Linked DNA regions of Homo sapiens: region 2 is linked to region 1. Evidence: promoter capture Hi-C in 16 types of primary human blood cells and fetal thymus (Javierre and others, 2016). All regions are on one chromosome and are shown on one strand. Each heading gives the region's core, a stretch centred on a gene start or on the middle of the fragment in contact. The rest is flanking DNA. Distances are from core to core; before and after follow the strand shown.

Region 1 (4,510 bases), core at 1,376-3,875:
AACAGTGCCCGGTTCTGTGGTGGATGACACAAAGGCTGGTGCGGAAGAAGGGCTGAACCCCGGGGAGGCCTGACGCCTGTCAGTAATGAGATCATGAAAACCAGTTCTGAGTTGCTTCCATGTGGCCCCACGAATATCTTTATTCCCTGGGTCTGTGCCTGGGGTGGGCCTCAGATCCCATAGATCAGAGTGAAGGGGCTGTCACATTTACTTGTCATTTGGTAATTTTCAGTGAATTAGGGGTATGGAGTTTCCATCTGCCATCTGGCCTCACTCTGGTAACCATGGTAACCACCATCTGCCTGACTTAATACTATTAAGTCCTGTGCCAAAAGAGCACTGGACAGGGTGTTGGGACCAGGGAGCTGGTCATCCTTTACTGGTCACCCTGGACAAGGGCTCTGACCTTGCTGTGTCTCAGTCTCTTTCTCTGTATAACAGCAGATTTGGTCTGAATGTCTTTAAGGTGCCTTTCTCTTAGGAAGAGAATGCCACTCTGGGGAGAAATTATCTGAGATCATCAGCAGCATTTATAGTCTGAGGACCTGGTCAGCATTTCTTCTGTCTCCTGCATGTGGAGTTAAAAGTGTTACCTGTCTGGAGACAAAGAGAATTGCCTGTGAATTAACGGCTGAGGAAAGCAGTTATAAAAACGAGTGATAGGAACTAGCAAAAGGAAAGAGACAGGACTGTTTAAGTGCCACAGGGCGGAAACCAACTGTTCCGAGTGAAAGGGACCTCAACAATGACTCCACTGGGGCTGATATGGCCAGAGAGGGGAAGGGACCCGTCCAGGGCCACTCAGGGAGCCAGCGGCAGCACAGATGCACCCCCAGCCAGCTCTGTCCTCCATGGGGAGCTTCAGCTAGGAACAGCCAATGGTGACTTTCCTGTGCTCAACTGGCCACACACTGGTTTTACATTTCCCAGGACTGGAGGCTTCCTGCCCCATCTCCAACAACCCATTGCGTCTCCTGGACTTGGGTACATCTACCTGAACTACTTGAGAGGAAAGACTACTAGATACTTCTTAAGGCTTGGAAAGGTCTCACCCCACCCCAGGCTTCTTTCTTGAAGCTAAGTCATTACACTGACTTAGGCACTAAAGTCTGGACTTGGTCTCTGGGCTCAGGCCAGAATTATTTCCCAGAAGCCTGAACTCCAGGCCGAAACCCAGGCTCCTTGGGACTCACTGGCCACCTTCTCACTCACCCTAAACTCAGCACTGCCCACTCCAGGCAAAGTACACAGCGGCACTTCAAAACCTAGTGGGTGGAATACACTCATGCTTAGGAAGCCGGTAAAGCAGTGCTAACGTTTTGGTTTCTTTTTGTTTGGTTTTCAAAAGGTACATAAAGAGGGTGGGCAACTATAGCACTCAGAGATTATTTTACTGTGATGTTAATGAAGCTTAAGTTTCTAAGTCCCTAGCATTTCATAATAAGTTTCTAAGTCCCTAGCAGTTCTATTCCTTTACTTAAGGCAGGACTCTCCAAATTATATATGTTTTAGAAGCACGAAACCTGAGTCTGCCCCTAATAGCACCACAATCTTTTCAGACCTTACGTCTCCAAAGGTCTTACTTCTCCTGGATGGAGCTCCCTCAGCATCCCAGCTCAGCCCCTTCCCACACCGGGGGCCCTGGTGCTCTGGTGCTGTGGCCTGGTGACTACTGATTCCCCAGTCTGGAACTCATCCTCCTCCTGCATCCTCAACTTCCCTTCCTCCCCTATCCTCTACTTCCCTTCCTCCCCCAACCTCAACTTCCCTTCCTCCCCATTCAAACAATCCACCTAGCGCTGGATACCTGGGAACTCGGATCCCCCTCCTTAACTCCCAGTCTCCTGCTGGGCAAACATACCATGCCTACAAATAAGTGACTGCATCAGCAGGTACTTAAGTACCAAAAGGGGTAGCAGGCTCACCAAAAATTCGACTAGCACAGTGAGTGGCGTCTCCAAGGATTCTCGCCCCAGTCTCTCTGAGCACGAGGAGAGATATGAAATACTGCTCCCTAAGGGGAAACTGAGTGCCAGGCAGCGCCGTCCACCACTGGGCAGGGGGATCCTTCGCTCCACACCCCAGAGGGTTGGAATCCCTCCTTCTCTACCCACCCAATCCCCGACCCTGACTCACCGAACTCGCAAGGGCCGTCGCGCGCCTTGTGCAGGTGACCGGGGTGCGCGCGGGGCGTGTGCCGAGCGCGCAGGCGCAGCGCGCAGACGCTGGGGTACGAGCGACCGTCGGAGCCGCAGACGGTGCCGCGCTGCGCGCACACGCAGAGCCCGGTGCCCTCGGGCGCTGCCCCAGCGGCCTGGCTCGCGCATACCAGGCCGGGGCCACAGCGCCCGCCGGCGCGGCCCCCGCAGCTCGCGCCCTCGGCTCCCAGGCAGCGGGCGCAGCAGCCGCACTCGTCGAGCGCCGAGATCCCGGGCGCCGGGCAGGGCGCAGGCGCCGGGCAGCCCTCTGGCCGGCACGGACCACACTTGGGGCGCCGGCCGCCCACGTCGCGGATCCCAAGGCTCGGGGACAGCGGCGGCAGCAGCGGCAGCAGCAGCAGAAGCAGCAGCGGCAAGAGCAGAGACAAGCGCGGCATGGCTTGCTCCGGGACAGCGGCGGCGCCTCTGCTTCGCGCTCCGCTCCGCGCCCGCCGAGCAGTCACCGCTCCCGCCCCGCGGCCGCTGATTGGCCGGGCCTGCACCGCGGGGCGCCCGCAGACCGCTGCTCCAGCCCGGGACCCGCGCGGTGCCCGCGGCCCGGGTCTCCGAGCTGGAGGGTCGCCCCGAGAGCAGCTCTCCGACCTCCGATTGGACTCTTGAGGGAACCGAGACCCAGTCGGGGCGACAACTTGCCCGAGGTCGCTATGGCAGAGTCAGGATTGGATAACCGTACGGTCTCCGGATCCAAGGCTGGCTCCAGATAGTATGCCCGTAAATCCTCCCAGAAGGATGCGCTATTTTATTTAATTTTATTTTGCATTCAGTAGTTTTCAAAGTTTTATTTTATAAAGAGAATATATGGTTTAAAATGTAGATTTTACATATACATCTAAGGATGAAAAGAGGGTTACCCTACCACCTTGTATCCCCATCCTCCAACTCGGCTTCCAGAGGCCACTCTTGCTATCGGGTTTTTGTATATCTTTTCAGAAATTTTCTCTATGCCTATAAAAGTACATGTGCCTAAAAAAGCCCCTTCCTTTAAAACACACACACTCTGTTTCTCTCTCACACACACAGAGTAGCGTGCCATACACATTAGTCTGCACTTGGTTTTTGCACTTACAGTGTTTCACAGTTTCCCCACCTCTTGTCATCTGTGAAACTGGGTTTCTTATACAATCAATGGGAGCATAGTTCATTGGCTCTGTGAGTGTGTTTCTTAATGCTGCATAAAGTCATGGTACATCTCCGTCCACAGTGACTTTGTTGTGATGAGATATGGTGATATATTTTGGAGTTCATACAGAGTGGCCTTTCCACAGGGTTTAGTTGCAGTTATTTAACCACTTATTTTCCATCCTTTGGTTAATACGAATAATGCTTTGATGAAGTCTTGGTGCACAAGGGTCAGTGTACCTGTGGCTTACTGGGGAATGCATGTTGGAAAGATGCAGTTTCTTGTAGTCAGTTATTCATGCCGCCGTTGCGCCTTCTCTGGGCCAGGCTCTGTGCACACCATCCTGCCTGAGTTCTGGCAGGGCACCCAGACGAGAAACCTAAGAGAGTCTTGGCTGCTGGGATTTGATGTGTTGCTGGGTAAATGCACTGGATGGAGGGAGGGACTCGCTGAGCAGGTTTTATAGGAGACTTTTCCTGCCTTTACTGGCCACCCCTCATGTGTCTTGTGCTCTATTGTTTTTTCTTTGCTGAACTCCTGGAGATGGAGAAAGCCTCTTGCAGCCTGGGAAGACCAGCTACACCGTTCTTGGGTGGGGTTCATTTTGCTTTTCAAGCCCAGTTCCTTCCCAGTTTGCAGTCTTCTTATCCCCAGAAAGGAGCCTCTTCTGAGGCCACTTTATGTGGTGGTCAGAGGAGGGCCATCTGCCTGGTCCACGCCAGGCCTTACCTTACAATCAGCCACACAGAGCAGGGGCGGTTAGGCACCATGAAGGGGTGGTGGTAAGGAATAAATATAACAATGTTGGTAATGCACTCAGCGCAGCTCTCAGAACCTATCAACAGTGACTTTCAACCTGGAGGCTGCTGTCTTTACCAGGAGTGGCCTTTTAAAGTGCTCTCACCGCTTGACCCCTCTGTGCTCTTCCAGGAATCTCTCCTAAAAAAATGATCACTATGTGTGAAGATTTCATCCTGGAGTTGGTTACTATAGCAAAAAATAAATAAATAAATAAAATAAAAATAAAAAAAGTTAACGACCTAAATGCCCACCGAGAGGCAATCGTTAAATAAATTATGGTACATCTAACAATAGAGGATTATGCAGGCATTAACAATTAGAAAGAAAATATGGGTTAATAGAAATGAAAACATGTTTATAATACATTGTT
Region 2 (4,510 bases), core at 1,433-3,932, 300 kb before region 1:
CCTCTCTCCCTCCAGCCCCTAGCAACAAATAATTTCTTTTTTTTTTGAGACAGAGTCTCATTCTGTCACCCAGGCTGGAGTACGGTGGTATGATCTCGGCTCACTGCAACCTCTACCTCCCAGGTTGAAGCAATTCTCCTGTCTCAGCCTCCCAAGTAGCTGGGATTACAGGCACCTGCCACCACGCCCAGCTAATTTTTGTATTTTTAGTAGAGATGGTGTTTTGCCAGGTTGGCCAGACTGATCTCAAACTCCTGACCTCAAGTGATCTGCCTGCCTTGGCCTCTCAAAGTGCTGAGATTATAGGCATGAGCCACTGTGCCTGGCCACTAATTTAGTTGCTGTCTCTATTTTATTTCTGTCTTTATGGACTTGCCTATTTTGGACATTTCATGTGAATGGAATTATATAATATGATGCCTTTTTTATCGGGCTTCTTTCCTGTAGCATAATATTTTCAAGGTTCATCTATGTCGTAGCATATGTTAGTGCTTCATTGCTTTTTATGGCCAAATAATATTGCATTGTATGGATATACCACATTTTGTGTATCCATTCATCAGTTGATATACATTTAGATTCTTTCAACTTCTTGGCTGTTATTAATAATGTTGCTGTGAACATTAGTGTAAAAGTTTTTATTTCAGCATGTGTTTTCACTTTTCTTGGGTATATACCTAGGAATAAAATGTCTGGGTCATGGCTAGGCATGGTGGCTCACACCTGTAATCTCAGCACTTTGGGAGGCCAAGGCAGGCGGATTATGTCAGGAGTTGGAGACCAGCTGGCCAACATGGTGAAACCCTGTCTCTACTGAAAATACAAAAATTAGCTGGGCGTGGTGGCAGGTGCCTGTAATCCCAGCTACTTGGGAGGCTGAGGCAGGAGAATCATTTGAACCCAGGAGGCAGAGGTTGCAGTGAGCCAAGATGGCGCCATTGCACTCCAGCCTGGGCAACAGGGCTAGATGCTGTCTTAAAAAAAAAAAAAAAAAAAAAAAATCTGGGTCATATGGTAACTCTGTAGTTAACTTTTTGGGGATCTGCCTATATAAGAGTTTCACTTTTTCTGTGTCCTCAGCAACACTTGTTATAGTTTTCTGGTTATAACCATCCTAGTGGGTGTGAAGTAATATATCATTGTGGTTTTGATTTGCTTTTTTTTTGCTTTTTTTTTTTTTTTTTTGAGACAAGGTCTTGCTCTGTCACTCAGGCTGGAGTGCAGTGGCACAATCATGGCTCACTGCAGCCTCAAACACCTGGGCTCCAGCAATCCTCCTGCCTCGGCCTCCCAAGTAACTGGGACTATAGGTGTGTGCCACCATGCCTGGCTAATTAAAAAATTTTTTTTGTAAAGACAGGGTTTCACTATGCTGCCCAGGCTGGTCTTGAACTCCTGAGCTCAAGAGATCCTCCTGCCTTGGCCTCCCAAAGTGCTGGGATTGCAGACATGAGCCACTGTACCCAGCCTGCAGTTTTCTAATGACTAATAACATTGAGTAATTTTTATGTGCTTATTGGCAATTTATATATCTTCTTTGGAGAAATGTCTATTTCTTCACATCCTTTGTCCACTTTGTAACTGGGGTATTTGTTTTTTATTGTTTAGTTTTTAAAGCTTCTTAAATATTATGAACCACTGTAGACCTGATTTGCAAAACATTTTTCCCCCATTTCATGGCTTTTTAACTTTCTTGATAGTGTCCTTTGAAGCACAAACATTTTTAAGTTTGCTGAAGTCCAGTTTGTCTGTTTTTCTTTCCAGGGTGTGTTTCCTGATACGTCCTCACAGGATTGATTTTTCTTTCTTTTTTTTCCTTTTTTCTTTTTTTTTTTTTTCGACATGGAGTCTTGCTCTGTCGCCCAGGCTGGAGTGCAGTGGTATGATCTGGGCTCACTGCAACCTTCACCTCCCGGGTTCAAGCAATTCTCGTGCCTCAGCCTCCCAAGTAGCTCCCATTAGGTGTGCATGGCTAATTTTTGTATTTTCAGTAGAGATGGGGTTTCACCATATTGGCCAGGCTGGTCTTGAACTCCTGACCTCAAGTGATCCACCTGCCTTGGCCCCCCAGAGTGCTGAGATTACAGGCGTGAGCCACTGCGCCTGGCCGGAATTGGTTGTTTTAACCTTGCCCCAACCAGACTGTCTTCTGCACTCTAACTGCCCCTTCTAAGTCTTCCAGGCAGCCTGGGCCCCTGAAACACTGGGATTCCTCATTACCCAAGGTTCTTCTGTGTTTCATGGTGATCACTACATCTTCACCACATAAGACACTTTGGATTGACTTCAAGACTCACCTTGACATTGGCTTGAACACTTTCTCCAACTTCGGCTCCTGTAACAAAGACTCTATTGATTCTCCCTCCACCTCTCTCTGCCCCTCTGTGACTCCACTCTGGACTCTTCATCTTGCTCAGGGTTTGCCGTACTCTCACTTTTCTCTCTCTCCTCTCTACTTTCCAGTGTTCACCTGGTTTGACTTCTTCAATGACCTCCTCTCTTTCGCTCCTTAGTGATGGAAGGCAACACAGTGAGACCGACCTGGGTTTGCAGCCTGGCTTGGAAATTTGCAAGCTGGGAACCTTGGACAAATTTATTTATAGCTCTGTTCCTTTGTTTCCTCATCTGTCCAGTAGGGGTAAGAATAATGTCTTCCAAAGGAGCTCTTGGGAGGCTAAAGGAGATATCATAAATACCCTGTGCCCATGATACGTGATAGAGTAAGGGCTCAAAGATATTCACCATCGGTGCCCCACTATCACTTCAAACTCAGCCTGTCCAAGCCAAGCTCATAATTTCACTCCAGGCTAGATCCTTCTGTCTTTTGCCCCCTTCATCCTGCTAGTGCCCTCACTTTGGGGTCACCTCCTACCAGGCCTTGTTCATTTACGATAATATCATCCCACGTGTGTCCCACATCGCCAGAGCTTGTCCATGCCCAGGCTCTTGCTTTCTTTCACCCTGGAGCCCCAGTCACCTGATCCTGCTAACTTTTGTTTCAAAATATCCCCTTCTCCCTCTTTTCTTTCCACCATCAGGGCCCCTGTCCTAGCTGTGTGCTCACTGGACTCTGAGTGGCGGAACAGCCCCTGATACCACCGTGGCCCACCTACCTCTGATCTCTGGCCTTTAGATTTGGCTCTCACAGGAGCTAGGAGTCCAGGCACCTTCCTGTGTTTTCTACAGCTCTGATTCTTTTTCCTGGCAAGTTGGGGCCACACACTAACCTGGCAAAATGTGGGAGAGGGAGCGAACTGTAGAATTTGGAGGTGGGAGCTCCTGATTGTAGACTAGGCTTGCCAGGGGATCCAGCAAGTCCTTTATGGTTTTTGGACCTTGATTTCCCCACCCGCACAGTGGAGATGAAGAATTTCTCAGTCTTGAAGGCCCCTGCCTCCTCTGATGTGTGGCGATTTATCACTTGTGGTCTCTTCCAATTACGAGGCTCATTCATGGGGCTTCTGAGAAGTCCCTTTTCGCTCTCTTCCTACCTTGACAGATTTGTCTTCTAAGGTGAGTTTCTCTTTTGCCGAGTCCTTCTCAGACCTCATTTCCTATCTCTGACTCACTCCGCTTGGCTTCTTCCCCTACCTTATAGCCTAGGGTGTGTGCGTTGATGTACAAATGTGTTCTGATAGTTGGCATAGCTTCTGCCTCTGTGTTCTCTTGGTCTTGCAGACAGTCTCTGCCTCCTGTCTCTCCTATTCCATCTCAGCCCCACACTGACAACAACCCATGGGATCTTTCTAAAGCTTAAATCTGAGCTTGTCACTCCCCTGCTGAAAAAACTTCGGTGGCTCTCTAAAGCCCCAGGATCAAGGTTATCTCCTTACCCTCCTTTTCAAACATCCCACACCCCTCTACAGTCTGGTCTCAACCTAACTGCTGTACTCATCTGCTCCTGAAGAGATGGGCCCCCGATTCCTTTGCTGATTCCATCCCTGTGCATGGAGTGTGCCCTCCTCTCACTTCTGTGTCCAGTGACATTCTGTGATGTCACCCACTGGGCCTCAGATCAGCTGTTACTTTCTTGGGAAGCTTCCCTTGATCTCTTCATTCAAATAAAAATGCTGTTACTTGTACATTCCTGCAGAATGTTATTCACTCTGCGGAGAAGGATCATTTTCTTTCTTCTTCATCTCATGATAAAGGTGGGGGCAGTGTCTGATGTGGCCAGGTGGTCAGCACATCGGTGCTGCTCAGTATACATTTGGTGACTAAGGGAATGGCTTCTTTATGGACTTCTGGCTTTTGTCTCCCTCCCCAGCTGGGCTACTTGAGAGGCCTCCTTTAATCTACCCACCATAGATAGATCCTCTTGAAGGGCAGCTGGGTTCATCTGCTGCCAAGCCCAACGTATGTTCCACATTTAAACAAAGGAACAGGAAGAAGCAAGGATTAGTGCAAGATGCTAGTCATTGAGCACACAGACACCTGCTGGCACAGGGACCTTTGGCAAAATCCCCAGCAAGTGCCCACAAAAGCCAGTGGTCGATGGTGCCCACAGATA

Evidence for each region. The method cuts DNA at HindIII sites, captures the fragments that hold promoters and counts their contacts. A CHiCAGO score of 5 or more calls a contact.
Region 2: a contact is called between a fragment that was not itself captured here and the fragment with the promoter of IGFBPL1 in region 1, in 2 of 17 cell types (total CD8 T cells and naive CD8 T cells). The highest score is 5.9, in total CD8 T cells.

Annotation. Positions count from the first base shown.
Region 1 is chr9:38,421,829-38,426,338 of GRCh38, forward strand. It overlaps IGFBPL1 (insulin like growth factor binding protein like 1), which reads right to left and starts at 2,626. Exons shown (of 5, transcript NM_001007563.3): 1 at 2,137-2,626. The coding sequence starts at 2,596. It overlaps LOC105376041 (a long non-coding RNA gene), which reads left to right and starts at 2,783. Exons shown (of 8, transcript XR_007061487.1): 1 at 2,783-2,922. RefSeq lists an enhancer at 3,671-4,510. The HindIII fragment of the contact is 4,043 bases long and covers 1,409-4,510 here.
Region 2 is chr9:38,122,496-38,127,005 of GRCh38, forward strand. No RefSeq gene overlaps it. Among named protein-coding and RNA genes, the nearest start is that of SHB, 56 kb to the left of the region's middle. The HindIII fragment of the contact is 2,135 bases long and covers 1,616-3,750 here.